Linked DNA regions of Homo sapiens: all the other regions are linked to region 2. Evidence: promoter capture Hi-C in 16 types of primary human blood cells and fetal thymus (Javierre and others, 2016). All regions are on one chromosome and are shown on one strand. Each heading gives the region's core, a stretch centred on a gene start or on the middle of the fragment in contact. The rest is flanking DNA. Distances are from core to core; before and after follow the strand shown.

Region 1 (3,485 bases), core at 156-2,655, 200 kb after region 2:
GTGATGTACTTCCTGTGACCATGCCTGCACCGGGGCAGGGCAATGGGAAGACAGAGAGAGAGAAGAAAGAGTATCAAGGATTCATTCCACCTTCCTGGGAGCACAGCTCCTCTGACTGGAGAGGAAGTTTGCCCTCCCTCAGAGTTCTGGGGTCTTTCTGGCCCCTTCTCCTGCTGCTGCCACTATTTCCAAGGATTGCTTGGAACTGGGGTGCAAGATAATGGAGAAAAGGAAAAGAGAAAAGTGGGAGGTCTCTGTACTCTCTGAACATTAGGAGATCTCTTTCCTGCACCTTAAGTCGGATCCAGAGAGTTTTCTCCTGGAGCCCCCTCTGCCCCATAGATGCCCATATTGGGTTTTGGGCTGCATTGAGTTCAGGTTGGGGGATACCAGAGGAAAAAATACAGTAAACTCACTGCTACTTGGGTGGTATATTCAAATATATTATTCTTCTTCAGTCTGCCTGCATTGATTTACTTTCAGAGTCTTCATATAGTTGCTCCATGCATTCTGTACAAAATTTATAGCTGCATTCATTGTGAGAGAGACAGACAGTGTGGAATGTGTTTATTCCATCTTACCTAGAACTGGAGCTTCTTATTAATATCTTGATTGTGATTGCATTGAATTATAGATCAATTTGGGAAGAATTGACATTTTCACAGTATAGAGTCTGTTTACCTATCAAAAACTATATCCTTCCATTTATTTAGGTCTCCTTTAATTTCTCTTAGCAATGTTTTGTTGTTTTCAGTATCAATCTTGTATATCTTTTGTCAGATTTATCCGTAAGTGTTTCATATTTTCGATGCTTAATTGAAAGTGGTATTGTTATTTTTATTTCAATTTCTGATTGTTTGTTGCTAGTATATAGAAACACAGCTAATTTTTGTATTTTGGCCCTCTATATTGCAACCTTCCTAAACTCACTTACCGATTCTACTAGATTTTACGTAGATTCCTTAGAATCATATATATATATGTGTGTGTATCTGTGTGTGTGTGTGTATATATGTGATCATATTGTATATAAGTAAAGACAATTCAAATTCTGATCCCTTTAATTTCCTTTTCTTGTCTCATTGTACAGCACAGACTCTCCAATACAATGCTGAATAGAAACGGCAGAAGCAGACATCCTTGCCTCATTCCCAGTCTTAGGGAGAATGCATTCAGTCTTTCACCATTAAGTATCACGCTAGTGATATCTTTGTTTGTAAATATCCTTTGTCAGACTTGAGGAAGTTCCTTTTCTTCTTAGTTTGCAAAGAATGTTTTTGTTTGTTTGTTTGTTTTTGGTTTCGGTTTTTTGAGACAGAGTCTTACTCTTTCACCCAGGCTGGAGTGCAGTGGTTCAATATCGGCTCACCGCAACCTCTGCCTTCCAGATTCAAGCAATTCTCATGCCTCAACCTCCTGAGTAGCTGGGATTACAAGTGTGTGCCAGCATGCCTGGCTAATTTTTATATTTTTAGTAAAGACAGAGGTCTAGGTGCGGTGACTCATGCCTGTAATCCCAGCACTTTGGGAGGCCGAGATGGGCGGATCACCTGAGGTTGGGAGTTCGAGACCAGCCTGACCAACATGGAGAAACCCCATCTCTACTAAAAATACAGAAAAATTAGCCGGGCATGGTGCTGTGTACCTGTAATCCCAGCTACTCGGGAGGCTGAGGCAGGAGAACCACTTGAATCTGGGAGGAGGAGGTTGTGGTGAGCCGAGATCGCACGATTGCACTCCAGTACGGGCAACAAGAGCGAAACTGTGTCTCAAAAAAAAAAAAAGACGGAGGTTTGTCATATTGGCCAGGCTGGTCTCGAACTCCTGACCTCAAGTGATCCACCTGCCTTGGCCTCCCAAAGTGCTGGGATTACAGGAGTGAGCCACCGCGCTGGCCCAATGCTACCATTTCAATCTTTGTTAGTGTCTGGCTTCATATTAGCAAGCCAGTGTAAAAGTAATCCAAACCTACTGATTAAGTAAAACCAAAGTTTGCTACTTTGCATAATTGTGGTGAGGGAGAGATTTTTAGTTCTTTCATGATAAAATTATTATATTTTCCTTGTAAAACTTTGAGAAGAGCACTGAGGATGAAGCAAAAGGGTCTTGTTCCTCAGCCCCTTCAGCTCATTCCCCAGATGTAACCACTGTAAATAGGCTTTTGTGCCTGCTCTCAGAATCTTTATGTGTATGTAAACACTTCTGTGTGCATGTGTGTGGTGCCTATGCGTGTATGTATGTCTGTGTGTTTTGTATGAATTGCAACATGCTATATATAATGTTTTGTAACTAGTTATTTTCTTTTGGTAACATTTCTTGCCATTTTGTTCTTTTTCTTTGTTTTTTTTTTCCCAATCAGTTTTCTCAGGTTGAATCTTGCCATTTTGCTACAAATAGATCTCCCTCTGTTTTAAAGGCTGCATAAAACACATTTACCAGGGTATACCACAACCTGGCAAAACTTTTCTGATGGACATTTGGCTTGCTTCCAGTCTTTTGGTTGTTGCAAATGAGGCGGAAATGAACACACTTGTGTAGGTATCTTTATGCTTTCCTAAGAATGTGTCTGAAAGATAAATTCCTACCTGAAGGTAGAATTGCTGAGTCAGAGCACTTTGGAGTTTGACTGACATTGTCAGATTGCCATCCCATGGCATGGGGCCAAGCTACGCTTATTTTTTTTCACATCCTGACTGGCACTGGGTTTATCAGTCTTTTCTATTTTAACTAATCTTATTGGTGAAGATGCTGTTTAATTCTTGTTCTTTGAGTTTAATGTTTCTTATTTTTAGTGTCTTTTGTAGAACTTTGACTCGTGGAAGCTTACCCCCTCCCCAAATAACCACAAGTATAAAGGGTGGAGTAACTGCAAAACCATTAAGCATTTGTAAAATCACAGAATTTAACTTGTCTTAACTTTTACAGTACTGACCTAAACATATTTGAAAACCAAATTTAAAACCAAAAAATTTTGAAAATTCACTCTTTTTTTTTGAGACACAGTCTTGCTCTGTCGCCCAGGCTGAAGTGCAGTGGCGCAATCTCAGCCCAATGCAACCTCTGCCTCCTGGGTTCAAGCAATTCTCCTGCCTCAGCCTCCCGAGTAGCTGGGATTACAGGTGCGCACCACCATGCCAGGCTAATTTTTGTATTTTTTAGTAGAGAAGGGGTTTCGCCATGTTGGCCAGGCTGGTCTCAAACTCCTGATCTTGTGATCAGCCTGTCTCAGCCTCCCAAAGTGCTGGGATTACAGGTGTGAGCCACCATGCCTGGCCGAAAATTCACTCTTTAAAAAAATTATATCTTGGCCAGGCGCAGTGGCTTACGCCTGTAATCCCAGCAGTTTGGGAGGCTGAGGCGGGTGGATTATAAGCTCAGGAGTTTGAGACCAGCCTGACCAACAGGGTGAAACCCTGCCTCTACTAAAAATACAAAAATTAGCATGGCATGGTGGCACATGCTTGTAATCCCAGCTACTTGGGAGG
Region 2 (3,704 bases), core at 1,130-3,629:
CAGGAGCTACACCTTGATCCTCTCCTGGCATGAAAATAAAACAAAGGTTTTCGTTGTTGTTGTTCCATTGCCCATTTCCCCCATGTTGTCTTTCCCTTGGCTGATGCCTCCTCTGGGTCACATTGCTTCTTATCCTGAACACTTGACACCTTGAGGGTAGAATTTAGCGTTTGGTTTTTACCTCCTAGCATATGCTGTTTGGTATGTGAGGGTTTCAGTACAAATGCTGCTGTCTATTTCTGTGCACTTAACAATGGAACCCAAACAGAAGAGAATAAAGCCTTGATACCAAAATTGGGAAAGAACATGTGTCCATTTGGACCAAACGTTGTTGGTTTTTAAAAAATTTTATTTTGTTTTTTTGTTTTTGTTTTTGTTTTTTTTCATCTTAATATGTACCAGTGGCACTTAACCAAAAGATACAGTGATATAGCCATGTACTGTGGGTGGGACAGATACAGTCTCCTTGGCCTATAATGAAACCACTAGGACTTTATACAGTTTTCCTTAATTTGTTGACATATAAATGGTAAATTATATTTAGGCTTATCCTGTTTTGAAATGATGGTAGTCATCTTTCTTACTGCTACTTTCATGTTGCTTTCTAGAAAACAGCATTTCATTCCAAAATAACTAGGATCTGCATTTAGAACAAGAATCATTATTTGTCCTGACCTTTTCAGTCCTACAGAGACGCATCTGTGGTTCTTTTGTACTTGCCATAGATGTAACCTAAAAAGTTTTGGCATATTTAGGTCAGCCTAGCGGAACTTTTTTTTTCATTTAAATGGAGCTGAATAATGGAGATTTTGTGTCTGCAAAATTCCTGAGATCATTGAAAAAGTAACAAGCTGTTCCTTGTTTCTGATACATAAAATTATTTTAAGCATTTTATCAATCATTAAAATTTACTGCCAGTTGTGAGTGGCTTTTTAATTAACTTGTCTTTCATTGCACTTCACTCTGCCTGTTTTCAAGGGGAGTAAGATTGGTAACATTTGGGGAGACTGTATCTGTCTACTTAGCGTGGCTGTTTTGAGGGACTGTCCCATCAGTGAACAAACTGCATGGCCTTGGAGAGAGACTCTGGGCTCTTGGCTCAGATGTGTTCATCAAATACTCCTTTCAGAGCTGTTGTGGGTGTAAGTGACATGATGTGGCCAAAAATCCAAACTGTGCAGTTGCGTTGTGACAAACATGCAATGTGCTGTAAAAATTCAATACAGTTTAAATAAAATCTCTATATTAGTGCTGCTTTGTTGGGTCGTTTTATTTTCATTTCTAAAAAAACTTAATATTCACTTATTCTTTGACCATGAGAAGAGTAGAACATTGTACCCCTTTCTCCCAGCAATTTCCAATTTATTTATTTTGAGATGGAGTCTCCCTCTGTTCCCCAGGCTGGAGTGCAGTGGTGCGATCTCGGCTCACTGCAACCTCCGCCTTCTGGGTTCAAGCGATTCTCCTGCCTCAGCCTCCTGAACAGTTGGGACTACAGGTATGCTACCACGCTGGCTAATTTTTGTATTTTTAGTAGAGACAGGGTTTGACCATGTTGGCCAGGCTGGTCTCGAACTCCTGGGTTCAAGCAGTCCACCCAGCTCGGCCTCCCGAAGTGTTAGGATTACAGACATGAGCCACTGCGCCCGGCCAATTTCCGTTTTCAAATGAACCTCTCTTTTTGAATCAGCACAGCTCTTGTTACATTCTTATTTATTGATTGGCTAGGGATCGATTCTTATGGATACCGTAGAATTCTGTCCCATCTTTATTTCTCTTTAATGTCTAAAATGCCACCAGCTAGTTGGGCAGGCACACAAGATAGTACTTAGATTCTTGTGATTCCCTCCTCCTAGGGACCTCAGTTTTCATCTAACCTTGAGTAAATTGTCTTGAACAAATACTGACTTAAAAGAGTGTATCTTAAAAGATACAAAGGGCTACTATCTAAAAGGTGAGTTCGTTTACTCAAGATATTATACCTCCAGTAGCATCATTTTTGTTTGAGAGGTAAGCAGTTCCACTGTTAGCAAAGATTACAGACCAGACCCTTTGGTCCCCAGAACGACCAACTCTGCTGCCTAACGCACACTTTCTCTGCATTCCAAGTCTCCACTAGTTGGCTGGGCCGAAACACACGCCTCTTGGTATTCCACGGTGGATAACTGGGCTTCTCTCTTGTCAGGACTTAGAACACCCCGGCAGACAGCCTTCCCGGCCTGAAGTCTGGGAACGCCTGGGGAAGGGGCTCCTGCCCGGGTCCCGCAGGCGTCCGGCGGGCCGAGCTGGGGCACGCGGCCGCCGAGGGGGAGGTGCCCACGCCGCGTGGCGGGAACTCGAGGCCCCATTGGCCGCGCTGGGAGGCGCCGCGGGGCCTCGTGCGCCAACGGTCCCTGGTACGCGGCGGATGGGCGCCGGCAGGAGCGGGCAGGGCGAGGCGAAGGCCGGGGAGGGATCGAGAACGGTGTGGGAGAGCTAGGCTCGGGGGGCGAGGCCCCGGCCCGGCGGGGCGATGGAGGCGCTGCTCTCCACCCCCATCAACCCCAACAACTTCCCCGCCAAGCTGTGGCGCCTGGTGAACAGCCCGCGCTACCGCTCCATCCGCTGGGACGGCCGCGGCGAGGGGCTGCTTATCGATCAGCCGCTCTTCGAGGCCGAGCTGCTCAGCCCGCCCGGGCCGGGGGGCGGTGGCGGGACTGCGGGGGCCGGGGCCGAGCCCGAGCTCTTCAAAACCACCAGCTTCACCAGCTTCATCCGCCAGCTCAACCTCTACGGCTTCCGCAAGGTGGTGCTGGGCGGGCCGGGGGGCGGCAAACCGGCAGGCAATGGGCCGCTCCATCACTTCCACAACCCGCACTTCCGCCGCGACCAGCCACAGCTGCTCGTGCACCTCAAGCGCCTCACCAGCGCCAACAAGGCCAAGCTGGCGGCCGGCCTGGAGGTGCCCTGCCGCCCGCCCAACCGCTTCCAGCGGCTGCTCATCACCTCGGCCTCCGCCGCCACCGCGCCACTGCAGCACCAGCAGCCGCCGCCGCCCGCGGGGCCCCGGCCCGAGCCGCACGGTGAGTCCGGACTGCCCGTGCCCTCGCCCACAGTGGGCACATGGGCGGCGGGGAGCAACCGCCGCTGGAGGGCGCATTTTCGCACGTCCTCACGCTATGGGCGTCGGAAAGGCGCCGGGGACCCATTGGCCGCTGTGCTTCCCGAGACTGGCGGTCCCGCCACCGCCGCCGTTCTCAGCGGCACCAGCACGGTGGCCACCGGCCCTCCCCTGGAGGGTCCGTAAGCATTCGGCCCCTTCTGAGCCCACTGGCAGCAAAAGGGACCTCCGCCTCTTAGGCTCCCTTCTACTCGTCCCCGGTTTGAACCCCAGGAGTTTACCTGGTTGTAAGCCTCCGTTTACCTTCCTGAGACCCACACTGTCCACTGTAAACATGTGGACTCAGTAGTCCTTCGTTGAAACATTGGGTCTGGAAGAAACAAAAGGGGCTCCTTTGCTCCCGTGGGAAGCAGAGTGGAGTCACCCTACGGGTTAAGGCGGGATGGAACAAAATCGTAGTCAAGAGAATTTAGAACATTACGGTTGGGCGTGGTGGCTCACGCCTGTAATCCCAGCACTTTGGGAGGCCGAGGCGGGTGCATCACGAGGTTAGGAGTTTGAGACCGGCCTAACCAACAGGGTGAAACCTCGTCTCTACTAAAAA
Region 3 (3,247 bases), core at 498-2,997, 240 kb after region 2:
GCTGGCCAGGCTTGGCTCGGAGCTGTACACAAAGCTGGCATCCAGGAAGGAGGTCAGAGCGTTGATCTGCTCTCGGGCCAGGGACTTGTAGGGTGGAGTGGGGCAGACGAACCCAGCTCGGAAGAAAGGCATGCATTTCCCTTGAGTCCCCGCCTTGGGGTCATTGGGTGGGAACTGCAGAGAGAGTGGGCATAAGTGACTGGGCAGGGGTGGAACAGCTGGGTCCTGGCAACCTCTCCCCAGGGCAAGTCTGGATGCAAAGATGCTGATGGCACCCTCCTAGGACCCTGGTACCAGACACTGACCCCAGACACTTCTTGCTGACATTACACACCCTGGGCTCATAATATCCTGAAGTTCATTACATCCTGTTGTGTGAAAGAACTGAGGGTAATCATTCAGTCCTCACAGTGAGGGCTCCAAATTTCTGGTGAGGAGGGAGTATTGAGCTCCCTGGACAGGAAAGCAGGACACGAGGTGGGAACAGGTTTGTTAATAATTACTACTAACAACAGCTGCCATGTATTTATTTTGGACTTACCATGTGCCAGGAATTATGCATACTTTAACTCATCTCAGTCCTCAAAAAAACCCTGTAAGGTGGACAATTCAGTTCCATTTTATAGATGAGAAAACTGGGGCTCAGAAAAGTTAAGTAAGTTGCCTAAGAACTTATACACTGGAAGGGAAAGATGTAGGATTCAGATCATTGGCTTCATTCCACAGTTTATGCTCTTTATACCACAGCACATAGCCTCGATTTATTCTTTGAGTGAAGAAATGACTCTCCAACTGTAATACCCATGAATAATAAGAAAAGATGCATTGCTGCAAGCTCCTCTCCCTTCCGGATGGAAATCCCTACAAATCCCTGCTGCTCACTCGGATTCATCCAGGTTTCAAGTCCTTCTGAGTGGAGTTGAAGTCATCCTCCACGATGATGTACAGCAGTATAAACTTTATCATGTATAAAATGAATCTCTGTTGATCTTGGTAAAAATGTAGAATCTATTTCCTAACATCTTGGGTGAGACTTGAGATTTTGCATTTTTTTTTTCTTTTTCTTTTTTCTTTTTTGAGTTGGAATCTTGCTCTGTTGCCCAGGCTGGAGTGCAGTGGCGTGATCTCGGCTCACTGCAACCTCCGCCTCCCAGGTTCAAGCGGTTCTCCTGCCTCAACCTCCTGAGTAGCTGGGACCACATGCATGTGCCACCTCGCCAGGCTAATTTTTGTATTTTTAGTAGAGACGGGGTTTCACCATGTTGGCCAGGCTGGTCTCAAACTCTTGACCTCAGGTGATCTGTCCACCTCAGCCTCCCCAAGTGCTGGGATTATAGGCATGAGCCGCCTCGCCCAACTGAGATTTTACATTTCTAATAAGCAGGTTTTACCAATGCTGCTGGGTCGGGAATGTAGACAACCTTCTCCAGTGTTCCCATTCTGCTATCAGTAGTTTACTTGTCCAATTCCCACACTGGCCCTTTGTTCTTGAGAGCAGGAGCGGTGTCCTGTTCACTTTGGAATCCTCAGCGCTTAGTGCACTGCCTGGTATGGGGTGGTCAATGTCTATTTACTGAATAAACGGATGAGTGAACGAATGGACACGTGAGGCATGGGAAACTACCAAATCAGTATCCCAGATCTATCCAGAGATCCTAGCTGATGAGCTGGGAATGTCTGCTACATCAGGGTGGGCAAGGGGCTAGTCAGAGATGCCTAGCTGCAGGGCCGTACCATGATGGGGAAGCAGTTGTCTCCCTGGATACAGTACTCATCACACTGGGCTTTGGAGTACTCGCTACTCCCCAGCTCGGTGTCAGGGGCAAAGTCCAGGTCATGATCCACAATCTGACCCCACTGCATGAAGAGCAGGGACCTGTTTTGGTCCAGAACACCCTCCTCATTCAGATAGCCAACAATCTTGTTAGATACCTCCCGGGCCTACAGATGGAGAGAGAAGGGGAGGGCAGATTAGAGGAAAAAGTGCTTTGAGGATTCAGATGCAACTACAGCTTATTAACTACCTACCATGTTACAAGTGCACTTAATCCCTACAAGGAGTTTGTGAGGTGGGTGGCATTAGCCTATTCTGTAGAGGGGGAGATTGAATCCTGGACAGGTGAAGTCAGTTCTCCAAGGTCCTGCCGCTACAAAGGGACAGGGATGGGATTGAACCCAGATCCGTATGACTTGATGATTTGCCAAGCCGGTGCCCTTTCCACTAAGAGAGGGAAAACAAAGACAGGCTGCCTCTGAAATGCGAGCTACGGAGGTGCCAGGTGTCCAGGAATAGGAGAGGGGCTCTGGGTAGGGGCTGCCAGCTCGATAAGGCCAACAAATAGGACCTCCAGGCAAACAACAGCTGATGCACTCCAGGGGCGGGGGCTGGGGTAAGTGCGAGCGGGATGGGGCAGGGAGGCCATCTGCCCGGGAGACCCCAGGGTATCTGGCCTGCGGCGGCCAGAACGTGACCGCCACGTGGCCGGGCTCCGGGCTCCGAGCTCTGCTGCCCTCTAGCGGAAGGTGGGGGTCTGTGCAGATCTCCATCGCGCACCCCTGCTGCCCCCACCGATCCCTCCTCCTCCTTTCACTGCGTGTTTGGGTAGTGCATCCCGTCCCCTCTGGCTCCCATCCTTCACCCCGGCCCGGCCTGCCCTCACCAGCGGGAGAGGGAAGCCGTTGCGCGTCTTCCCCGGCGTCCAGCCGAAGGGCAGGGAGAGCCCGTCCTCGTACTCCGCGGGCAGCCAGCGCGCCAGAGCCCTGTTGGCGGCGCCCAGCGCAGGCTTCCTCCTGAAACCAGCACGATCCTCGCTGAGCTTCGGCAGGCCGGCTCCGGGGCTCCAAAGCCCAGGACCCCATGGGGGAAGGAGCCTCTGCTCGAGGCGGAGGGGACGCAGAGAAGGGGGCCTCTCAAATTTGGGGTCTCTGAACTGCGCCCACCCCCTGAAGGCGCGGGGCTCCCCCGCCCCGGGGAAAGGTGCCGCTTCCAGAGACACACAGTGGGCTGGAGGGAGAGGGCTGGAGACGCGCGATCTTGAGAAGGTGGGGAAGGTGGGAACGCCAGCCCAGGTGGGCAAGGCAGTGGCAGATCTGCCTAGAGTGCCCAAGGGACAAAGGCCTTGGCAGGGCGGGGCGGAGTGGCTGGAATGGTCGGCCCCCACACCCCAAGCCCCGCCACCTGTTATTGCAGTCTCCCGTAATGGTGCGGTAAGGGCTGCACGGGTCGCATCTCACCACGGGAGCAGGA

The links. The method cuts DNA at HindIII sites, captures the fragments that hold promoters and counts their contacts. A CHiCAGO score of 5 or more calls a contact.
Region 1: a contact is called between a fragment that was not itself captured here and the fragment with the promoter of HSF5 in region 2, in 1 of 17 cell types (neutrophils). The highest score is 6.5, in neutrophils.
Region 3: a fragment that was not itself captured here is called in contact with the fragment with the promoter of HSF5 in region 2 in 2 of 17 cell types (naive B cells and erythroblasts); the score reaches 5.8 in naive B cells.

What each region holds. Positions count from the first base shown.
Region 1 is chr17:58,289,191-58,292,675 of GRCh38, reverse strand. No RefSeq gene overlaps it. Among named protein-coding and RNA genes, the nearest start is that of MPO, 10 kb to the right of the region's middle. The HindIII fragment of the contact is 2,839 bases long and covers 1-2,824 here.
Region 2 is chr17:58,487,083-58,490,786 of GRCh38, reverse strand. HSF5 (heat shock transcription factor 5) reads left to right here and starts at 2,379. Exons shown (of 6, transcript NM_001080439.3): 1 at 2,379-3,062. The coding sequence starts at 2,513. It overlaps MTMR4 (myotubularin related protein 4), which reads left to right. Exons shown (of 18, transcript NM_001378067.1): 18 at 1-1,250. RefSeq lists silencers at 2,668-2,717, 2,978-3,097. The HindIII fragment of the contact is 13,387 bases long and covers 1-3,704 here.
Region 3 is chr17:58,249,109-58,252,355 of GRCh38, reverse strand. LPO (lactoperoxidase) reads right to left here. Exons shown (of 13, transcript NM_006151.3): 5 at 3,179-3,247; 6 at 2,661-2,790; 7 at 1,735-1,941; 8 at 1-174. Among named protein-coding and RNA genes, the nearest start is that of LPO, 12 kb to the right of the region's middle. RefSeq lists enhancers at 2,807-2,876, 3,007-3,247. The HindIII fragment of the contact is 3,901 bases long and covers 1-3,247 here.